Linked DNA regions of Homo sapiens: region 1 is linked to region 2. Evidence: promoter capture Hi-C in 16 types of primary human blood cells and fetal thymus (Javierre and others, 2016). All regions are on one chromosome and are shown on one strand. Each heading gives the region's core, a stretch centred on a gene start or on the middle of the fragment in contact. The rest is flanking DNA. Distances are from core to core; before and after follow the strand shown. Region 1 overlaps AK7 (adenylate kinase 7). Region 2 holds the start of BDKRB1-AS1 (BDKRB1 antisense RNA 1).

Region 1 (5,377 bases), core at 1,372-3,871, 170 kb before region 2:
GACACAAATGCCTATCTGATTGCTTCCTCGGCCCTATGTCTATTTTATCTTACATAAAAATGCAGATTCGCTGAGCTAGATAAATGCATAAGTGACTATTCCTCTACCCTTCCCTCATGTCGAACAGCTGATCAAAGACTCAAAAGAATGTGCCCGCTTGCCTCTTATCTACCCACACCTTTTATTTATTTTTTGCAGATGCAGGGTTTCACCATGTTGCCCAGGCTGGTCTCAAACTCCTGGGTTCAAGCCATCCACTCACACTGGCCTCCGAAAGTGCTTTACTGGGATTATAGGCATCAGCCACCATGCCTGGCTTACCCACATCTTTAAAAAATTTCTTCCTCTTTCTCTAATATCTACCCTTTTCCCTTTAAATATTGAAGCACTCAAAGTCATCTTTGGAGAAAGGCACAGGCCTATCTCCTGGGCGTGCATCCTTAACCTTGGCACAATAAACTTCTAAATTGATTGAGACCTGTCTCAGAAACTTTTTGGTTTGCAGTAAGGAGGGAGGAGTTGGATTCTGATCATGTAGCTGGTTGGAGGGTTACCCCATTTTCTGAGATGGGGCCTTGGAGGAGGAGCAGGTTTGGGGATGACTGTAGGTATAGTTTGGATTTGGGAAAGACATCCAAGTTGAGGTGCTGAGTAGGCAGCTGGACCTACAGAGCTAGAACTTAGGAGAGAGAGCCTCGCTGGAGACTGAAGTTTGAGTCATTGGTATCAGTCATAGGAATAAACAGACCAAGGGAGAGAGAGCAGAGGGTGAAGAAAAAAGGTCTAGGGCCGAGGCCTGCGAATGCCAAGATTCAGTGAGCAGGTAGGTGAGAAGTAGCTGAGAATGGACAATGAGTAAGAGCTTCCTTGAGCTTCTCCTCTGCAACTGTCATATCTCTTGTATTAAAAAAATCAGTTCGAGGCCGGGCACGGTGGCTCACGCCTGTAATCCCAGCACTTTGGAGGCTGAGGCGGGCGGATCACGAAGTCAGGAGTTCAAGACCAGCCTGGCCAATATGGTGAAACCCTGTCTCTACTAAAAATACAAAAATTAGCTGGGCATGGTGGCACACACCTGTAATCCCAGCTACTCGGGAGGCTGAGGCAGGAGAACTGCTTGAACCCAGGAGGTGGAGATTGCAGTGAGTTGAGATTGCACCACTGCACTCCAGCCTGGGTGAAAGAGTAAGACTCCTTCTTTAAATAAATAAATACATAATAAATAAATCAAATAAAAATTAAAAATCAGTTCAACCAACCTCTCTTGACTACACTTTATCCTTTAACTCCGCCTTCTTTCTTTGCACCCCCCTCCTTTTACAGGAAAATTCCTTGAAATATTTCTCTGTTCTCATTGTCTTCAATTCCCCTCCAGCTGTTCCTCTTGAACCTGCGGCTGTTAGACTTTTGTCCTACCTAGTGCCAAAAAATTTAGCGGTCAATTTGTAGGTTTCATCTTAGTTGATTATCTGCAGTATCTGACACAATTTGTCATTCTTTCTTTTTAAAAACTTTTTTTTTTTTTTTTTTGAGATGGAGTCTCGCTCTGTCACCCAGGCTGGAGTGCAGTGGTGCAATTTCGGCTCACTGCAAGCTCCGCCTCCTCGGTTCACACCATTCTCCTACTTCAGCCTAACGAGTAGCTGGGACCACAGGCTCCCGCCACCATGCCCGGCTAATTTTTTGTATTTTTAGTAGAGACGGGGTTTCTCCGTGTTAGCCAGGATAGTCTTGATCTCCTGACCTTGTGATCCGCCTGCCTTGGCCTCCCAAAGTGCCGGGATTACAGGCGTGAGTCGGCCAAAAATATTTTTTTTAATAATTATTTACTTTTCTCTTATTTCCTCTCCTGCTTCCTGCCCACCCTTCTCAACCTCCTTTCCTAATTCCTTCCCATTTCCCTATAACCTCCAATATTGGAGGGTTCCAAGACTCAGTCCTCAGGCCCCTATCTCTTCTCCATATTCATTCAGTAGTTGATGTCATCCAGTCCCAAGGATTTAAGTACCCACTGTATACTGACAGCTCCCATGATTATATCTCCAGACCTGACCTCCCCCATGATCACCAAACTCTTTTTGTCCAATAGCCTTCCCAGTATCTATACTTGGATATTAATTATCTCAAACTTCCTGAACTTTTCATTGCATTGTACCCCAACCAGCTCCATTCCCTGTCTTCCCCATTTCAATAAGTGGCAGTGCCATACTTCTAGTTGCTTAGACCAAAATCCTTAAAGTTATCCTTTACTATGTTTCTGTCATCCTTACATCCAAGCTTTGAACAAATCCCATTGACTCTCTCTTCAAAATACGTCTGAAATCTGAACAGTTTCCAGTATCCCCACCATGCCCACCCAGGTCTTAGGCACTACCCTGCTCACTGGTTTCCTTGCTTCCTGCTCCTGCCCATGCCCCAAATAGTACATCCTCAGCACAGCAGAAGGAGAAAGCTGTCCTTTTATATCATATGGATTATGTTGCTTCTGTGCTCAGTCTAATGGTTGTCCAACTCACTCAGAAAGAAAGCCAGAGCTTCACGAGGGGCTACCAGGCTGGGCTTGGTCTGACTCTCTCATTACCGCTTTGACCTCATTACCGCTGTTCTCCCATACTTCAGCTAGATTGATCTAGATTGGTCTTCAAATGTAGCCAGCACATTTCTGCCTCACTTCTTTGCAGTAACAATTCTCACTGTCTGGGATGTCTTTCTCCAGAAAGCCGATTAGCCAGCTCCTTCATTGCCTTTCCCTTCCTACTCAAATGTCACATCGTTGGAAAGACCTTCCTCAACCTTCCTATATAAGATATAACAGCCCCAATCCCCGCAACCTTACTCCCCAGCACTCTCTGCCTTTCTCTGCTCTGTTGTTTTCCATACCCTGTTTCAACATCTGAAATACTCAACATTTACCGGCTTGCTTATTATCTATCTCTTTCTCCATCCCCCTAGAATGTAAGCTTCGCAAGAGGAGGGACTTTATTATTTTACTGTATCCCAAGTACCTACAACAGTTTCCAGCACCTGATGGGCACTACATCAATATCTGTTTCATGAATGAAAGGAGATACGTCTTTTTCATTATTATTTTGAGAGTGGTGAATACAAGTTAATAATGGGAAAGAAACGTAGGTCTTTGTGGTGACATCCATACTTGCCTTCATCTTCTGCTATTCTACTGCACTAACCACACCCAAAGCAATCAAAAACACCTTCAAATTGCGTATCTGTATCGTAAGACACTTTTAAACATTCCACGTCATCATTGAAAGCCATACCTTAAAAAATGTGTGTAACATGCCTCCTTCCGCTCCATACTGGAGTCCAGCAGCAACTACGTATGCTGCAAATTTTCTGGCCTATTAGATAAAATACAGAAAAAAAAAGCTGGATGTAATATTATTAGTCATACTGAACCAGATTATTTTAGTAGTTAAAATGAGCACTTTCAGAACTTCCGTCAACTCTTGCAGGTTACTGAGTATTGTTCGGGATACAAATCCTATCTCTTAAAGAGAGAAACGACACCCCCGCACTATTCAGGAATACCTCTGACTACTATTAAAATTTAACAAGGACTCCTAATTAAATTAAAGCCAGGGTTTTTGTGAAAACTTTGTACCTGTAAGCTCTATGCTCGGCACTGAGGGGGAAAAGAGAAAGAAAAACAGGTCTTTCCACGAGGATCTTTAATGATCTAGTACCTGAAACCAAGAAGCTGGTAATGGGCCTTAACACAAGGATGGAAATTCACATGGATTGTCCACTTCACTCTGGACAAGCAGTTTAGGCACTGTAAGAACTGGAGTCAGTATTCCTTTATTTTTAATTTTTAATATTTGTGGGTACATAATAAGTATATAGATTTATGGGGGTGCATGAGATGTTTTGATACAGGCATGCAATGTGAAATAAGCACAACATGGAGAATGGGGTATCCATCCCTTCAAGCATTTATCCATTGAATTACAAACACTCCAATTATACTCTTTAAGTTATTTAAAAATCTATAGTTCAGTTATTACTGACTATAGTCTCCCTGCTGTGCTATCAAATAGTAGGTCTTATTCATTCTTTCCAACATTTTTTGTACTCATTCACTATCCCTCCCTCCCCCCACCCCCTACTACCCTTCTCAGCCTCTACTCTCTGCCTCAATATTTAACCAGATAAGCTCAAAATACCATCTTTATTATTGATATGAGTTCTGCTGGAGGCCATGCCTTAGGTGAGCCATGATGATGAGCTTCCTAACCCTGAATCCAGAATAAGATGAACTTTTCCAACCAGTCCCAGGCCACACTGGACAGCGAGGGACTCCTCCACATGGCGGCCTGCTGCTGTAAGTCTCAGGGCATGAGGAAGGTGAAATGCACAGTAGCCACCATCCCTGGAGTCCCAGAGAGAAGGGAAGGAGGAGGGGCCAAGCTCACATGGCCAGGCCCTCCTCAAACCCACCAATCAGAAAACTCGCTTGAACTTCTTCAGGCGAACAGGGGATGGTGCAAGAAGACAGGAGTTTTTTGTTTGTTTGTTTGTTTGTTTGTTTTGAGACAGAGTTTCACTTGTTGCCCAGGCTGGAGTGCAGTGGCATAATCTAGGCTCACTGCAACCTTGGCCTCCTGGGTTCAAGTGATTCTCCTGCCTCAGCCTCCCAAGTAGCTGGGATTACAGGTGAGAACCACCATGCCCAGGTAATTTTTGTACTTTTAATAGAGACAGGGTTTCCCCATGTTGGCCAGGCTGGTCTTGAACTCCTGACCTCAAGTGATTCACCTGCCTCGGCCTCCCAAAGTGCTGGGATTACAGGTGTAAGCCACTGCGCCCGGCCTACAGGAGTTTTTAGGAAGAATGTTACTCAGGCTCTTGTGGGAAGGTAGTGATCTCACCTCACAAATATTAGGCCTGAAAAGGAGGACTTAACCACAAATACAATAGAGATTTTAAAAATTGTAAGACAGACTTAAGGACAACTTTCTGTCAATTGATTTGAAAATTTAGCCTAAAGGGCTCATTTCTTGCCCCCAAACACCTGTTAACTGCCTTCCCACAGTCCAAGACAGTTTTTCAACCAAAGTCTACCAAACAGTCAAAAGATAATCCCAGAGGCAGGGCAAGATGGCGGGATGGAAATCTCCCCTGCAAGGACAACAATAACTACCTACACAGAAAAAACAGCTTCATAAGAACCAAAAATCAGGTGAGCCCTCACAGTACCTATTTTAACTTCATATCGCTGAAAGAGGCACTGAAGAACCAGAAAAAACAGTTTGGAATCGCCAAAGCCACCCACCCTCACCAGCAGGAGAGCATCTCTGGGTGCTGCAGGAGGGAGAACACAGCATTTGAGAGGCATTGAACTCAGCACTGTCCTGTT
Region 2 (5,446 bases), core at 883-3,382:
TGTCTTCCTCTCGTACTTGCTGGGTCCCAACCAATCCTTCCTGATAGTTTTCTGTCCCCTGAAGCTCCTGAAAAGTAGGCTTGGCTTCCTGTTTACTGCCTTAAACACAATCCTGGCCATAGGGAGTCTCTGCAATCATCATGGCCACTCAAATGAGAACCCTGGCACTCAGGCCTCTTCTCTGACCTCAGCCTGAGACTGAGACCTGTCACCAGGGCCCAGCGGGCATCTTGGGTCTGAACAGAGCCCTTCAGCAGGAGCCCTGCTTACTCGGTGACCTTGGACAAGTCTGCTTGTCTCTGGACCTTGGTTTCTTCATCTGTAAGGCAGAGTGGTTGAACTTAATGATGCATTCTTTTTAAGGTTTTTAGTAGATTTGCATACAGTGATAAGAAAGATGCCTTGTACTCATTCTTTTTTTTTTTTTTTTTCTGAGACAGGGTCTCACTTTATTGCCCAGGCTGGAGTGCAATGGCACAATCATGGCTCACTGCAGCCTTGAACCCTGGGCTCTACTGATTTTCCCACCACATTCTCCCAAGTACCTGATACTACAGGTGTGCACCCCCATGCCTGGCTAATTTTTGTATTTTTACTAGAGACAGGGTTTCACCATGTTGCCTGGGCTGGTCTTTGAACTCCTGGGCTCATGTGATCTGCCTGTCTCGGCCTCCCAAAGTGCTGGGATTATAGGCATGAGCACTGTGCCCGGCCCCATTATTCTTTACTCAGTTTCCCCCAATAGTAACATCTTACACAAGGATCGTGCCATATCACAACCAGGAGAGTGACACGGACACCATTTTTGGGATTTTATTCAGACTGTGCTTTGACATGCATTCATTTCAGTCATAGTTAAAGCCTCTTCTGCTCATAGGAGAAAATGGTTGTTGGTGCTTGCTGGGGTGGCGCTGTCCTGGTGTCTCACATACATCTCTGACCTTCCTCTTGTCCTTTCTCGCCTTTCCTTCCCTTTCTTTGCCCATTACCTCTTTCCAAAAAGGGAATAAGGCCGTCCTTTTGGGTCACTTAATTTTCACAACGACACAGTGAGGCACTGCTCTCCTCATTCCCATTTTACAGATGGGATGCCGAGTTTCGGTGGTCGGCCAGGCCCATGCGGTGGTGGAGTGAGGACTGGAACAGTGGCATGTGTGACTCAGAGACCTGGACCTCTGACCGGCTGCACTGTGCACTCTGCAGCCCCGCGGTGAGGCCCTTCTTGGGCAGGGGCCTGAGCTGGGGGTGGTCCGGGGAGGCAAGAGGATGCTGAGAAGGAATCAAGGGGGTCTGGAGAAAGGGGCTGGGCACAGGGAAAGAGAAGGGCAGGAAGGAGCTGAAGGTGCACAGAGGCCAGAGCGGAGCTCAGCCGGAGCCAAGGCTTGGATCAGCCCTGGTTGGATGCCCAGGCTCCTCGGAGCTGTGGTGGGAGCAGGGGTGGGGAGGAACACTTTCCAGGGCTGCTTCCGACCTGCTCCTCATCAAATTTGTGACTCATCTCCGGAGAGCAAGAGCCTGCCTGTGGCCATTGCAACATCAGGGAGTTTCCCCGAGGCTGGGATTTGGAGGGCCTTAGTGCCACCCACTCCCCATGATGGATTGGGGTGATGATGGGGCAGGGTGGGGGCAGTTTTCTTACCTTCCCACTGCAGAGAGCAGTGAAGGCCACATATGGCCCCTGATCACGCGGTTCTGGAGCCCAGGACAGACCCAGAGCTGGGAACGGATTGGAGTGAAACCTTGTTCTCTCTTTCTACTTGGCCCTTCTCAGGGAGAGAGTGGAAGCCCACATGGGTGCTGGAGCTGGGGATGCTGGAAGACTATTTGCTAATTCCTCCCTCCACCCCAGGTGTTAGCACCACAGGTGTGGCCTGGGCCTGGCCCCATATGGAACACGCCAGGTGAACCTATCAACCAGATCCATGGGAACTCAGATATATTACCTTTTCCCACAGCATCGATCCTTTTAGTCAAGGCAGAAATTTCTCCCTCTGTAAATGAATAACTGGCCTTCCCCACAGAAGGGCAACAGAATTCTACTGTACGGGTTTGCCAGTTTCTCTCCCACTGTGGGGCCATTTGCTGGGCTTCGGTAAACGTTACTTATGTGCGTCTCATAAATCAGGTGTCTGAGTTCTCAGGCTGTGGCTGCAGTCTACCATTGAATTACATCCCGTGAGCAATGTTGTCCGATTTCACCGGCCAGCACGTTCTTCTCGAGTGTGGGATTGGTTTTTGCAAGACCTCGAAAGGATTTTGATAAGCCACCTGCTTAAGGCCGGCTGAAAAAGAAGAAAGGAGGGCATATGTGGGTCAGCTCACTCGGAATAGAAGAGGAATCAGGTATTATTTTCCCTTTCCCACTCTCTATTCCTGCCTGTTCCTGCCTACTTTTGCCACTTTGCCACAGAGCCTTTGCCCAATGAATTCCTGCCTGGGGGCTTGGAAATCACATTGGTGTTGGAGTCAGATGAGTTGGGTGAATCCAGCCTCTGCAGTCTGAGCAGGCACTGCCTTCCTTAGCCTCCTCTTCCTCACCTAGAAAGTGGACATCCTGAAACAGACCTCACAAGGGAGTCAGGCGATTAAATGAGATGACTGAGCCTACTCCTGTGTGTGGCTGCTGAGTCGCACTGGGTGTGCTTGGGCAGGTCTTACTGCTCTCTGTTTCCTAGACTGTATGTGAAGGGATGGTCTGGATGAGGGGTTGCAAACTTAACCTCCCATAGCTTCCATGCGTGTGAACCTGATGGGAGGGCGCCCTGTTCACGGGGCCTCTGCTACACAGCACCAAAGAATTGGAGCCCCGGGGGGACCCTGGAAGGTCAACTCCAAGGGCCCAGGGATGTTCCTCTCTTTTGTTCACTGCCATATTTTCAGTGCCCAAAACAGTGTCTGACAAAGTAGATGCTTAATAAATATCTGCTGAATGAATGAAATTGAATCAGTGTTGCTGGATGTTCCAAACTTTCAAAAGAAACTGGAAAGCTGGCTCCCAATGGGGAGTTTCAGTACTGGTAACCAACTCAAGAGCCTGGGGGCTTGGAGTTTTAAAAAATACCATGTGGTTCAAATTAAACACATGTGCAGGCTGGATCTTGCCTGTTGGCTCAGCTCCAGGCCTTCTGACGACACTCTGCTCTCCAGGAAACCTGCAGGGGCTGGAACACTGATCACAGGGTTATCACTGATGAGGTCCTGGTGGCCCAGCCGCTGCCAGCCTCTCAAACCCTGTCTCCAGGCTCCAAGAACATGGCATTCTTTCCATTCCTGGAATGAATGAGTCTTTGCTGCTATTCTGTGAGGACCAGCCCTTCCCGTGCAGCTGTGGGGACTGCCATTCTCCCCATTCCCCCAAGTGTCTTGGAGTCCAGTCACTACACCCTCTCCCCCACTCCATGGAAACTGACCTTGGAATGGCCTCCTGGCCCACGGACTCTCTCCTCCCCAGGGCCTGACAATGTCCCGCCTGCCTGTGAGGGCCCAGGTAGGGCCCACCCACCACCTGACCTCTCCATTCTCTATGTTGTCTCCAACCTCCTTCTTCTTCCCTCTACTTCAGCCACCTGGTGCCAGGGATACACTTGGTCCTTGTCATCTCCTGAGATGGCTCTGCCTCTGGAATGTTCTACTCAAACATTCCTGCTCTGTGGCTATGCCTTCCTCTCTCTCTTTTAATGAGACAGGGTCTCACTCTGTCAGCCAGGCTGGAATGCAGTGGCACAATCTTGGCTCACTGCTTGTAGCCCTGACCTCCTGGGCTCAGATGATCCTCTTGCCTCAGCCTCCCAAGTAGCTGGGACTACAGGTGCGCACTACCACGCCTGGATAATTTTTGTATTTTTTGTAGAGACGGGGTCTTGCTATGTTGCCCAGGCTGGTCTCAAACTCCCGGGCTCAAGCCATCCACCTGTCTCAGCCTCCCAAAGTGCTGGGATTACAGATTGCACCCTTTGTGGAAACCAGGCTCACGGCTGATTCCCTTCACAGTGTACAGAAGATCACGCCTGGCTCTTCTTCTGTTTCTTGCTGTCACCCAGGTTCTCTCACTATATCCATCCTTTAACACACTGATCTCACTTCACTTCCTTCTCTCCCTGTGCTCGTTTCTTCCCTCTCCATCATTCCCCCGAGTCTGACCAGGATCCCCAACTCCCATGACGTATGGCCGTCTATCTGGCTAAACCCTACTCCAGAGCAATCCTTTCCTGGGTCTGTCGAGCATTATCAGAGTAAATTCACACAACACAGCCACGCTTTCCAGCTTCAATGGGGCCCTCAAAGCTGCCTGGAGCCCACCATCCTTCCTGGGTGAACTGTCTTTGCCAGCTGACCATGGTGGACCCAGCCTGTCCATTCTCCTCCAGCCCCAATTCTCTCCATGACCCGCCTCCTCCTCTGCCATCCTTCAACCTCTCCCTCCTAACCTGTAACCCCACCTGCCTCTGGGCCTACTTTGTTCCTTCTGTCTGGAACACTCCTTTCCCCCATTTTGCTTGGCCAGCTTCTCATTTTTTGGGATTCAGTTTATGTGTCTCTTCCTCCAGGAACCCCTCTCTAACCATCCCTCCCAGCCACCCAGACTGGAGCCCTGCTCTGGTTCTCACGGCACCCCTCACCCTGATGGTGGCGGGCATCCTGCTCTATGACAATCCCTTAATTATTGTCCTGGTTGCTGTGAGCCCCTGGAGGGTAGAGACACCGTTAGGCTCACCGTTGGGTCTCTCATAGCAAGACCCGCACCAATGCATTACACGTTCAATAAGAGCATGCACAAGCATTCTTTTGTGAGCAGCTCACCCTTTCCCGCCTCTGCCAGCCCTTCCTCCCTGTCTCCACGTATCCAGATTGCACCCTTTGTGGAAACCAGGCTCACGGCTGACTCCCTTCACAGCGTCTTCTCTGCTAACCTGAGAGGGAACCCATCCCCTTTCTCGCTGAAGGCGCAAGATGCTGGATCCGTGGTGTGTTCATGCAATTTCTCATTTCATTTTTTATATTATAATATTTAGATGTATGTAAGTTCCTTGAATATAGAACTTCTAGCTATACCATCCCTGTATTCCTGGCAGTTAGCCTAGAAAGCTTTGAATAGACAAATGGAAGTGTAATAAGAGAGGCCATTACCCGATACTTGTTATTTGTTTCCTGCTGCTGCTATGACAAATTACCAGAAACTCGGTGGCTTAAAATACAAATGGGGCCAGGCGCAGTGGCCACGCCTATAATCCTAGCACTATGGGAGACCAAAGTGGAGGATCACTTGAGCCCTTGAGTTTGAGACCAGCCTAGGCAATGCAGGAAGACACCATCTCTACAAAAAATAGAAAAGTTAGCCAGGCATGGTGGTGCACACCTGTAGTCTCAGCTACAGGAGGCTGAGGTGGGAGGATCCCTTGAGTCTGGGAAGTTGAGGCTGCAGTGAGCCGTGATTGTGCCAGTGCAC

The links. The method cuts DNA at HindIII sites, captures the fragments that hold promoters and counts their contacts. A CHiCAGO score of 5 or more calls a contact.
Region 1: a contact is called between a fragment that was not itself captured here and the fragment with the promoter of BDKRB1-AS1 in region 2, in 1 of 17 cell types (activated CD4 T cells). The highest score is 6.7, in activated CD4 T cells.

The regions. Positions count from the first base shown.
Region 1 is chr14:96,435,817-96,441,193 of GRCh38, reverse strand. It overlaps AK7 (adenylate kinase 7), which reads right to left. Exons shown (of 18, transcript NM_152327.5): 6 at 3,279-3,359. Among named protein-coding and RNA genes, the nearest start is that of AK7, 46 kb to the right of the region's middle. The HindIII fragment of the contact is 683 bases long and covers 2,280-2,962 here.
Region 2 is chr14:96,265,266-96,270,711 of GRCh38, reverse strand. It overlaps BDKRB1-AS1 (BDKRB1 antisense RNA 1), which reads left to right and starts at 2,132. Exons shown (of 2, transcript XR_007064322.1): 1 at 2,132-2,343. RefSeq lists an enhancer at 858-2,057. The HindIII fragment of the contact is 7,907 bases long and covers 1-5,087 here.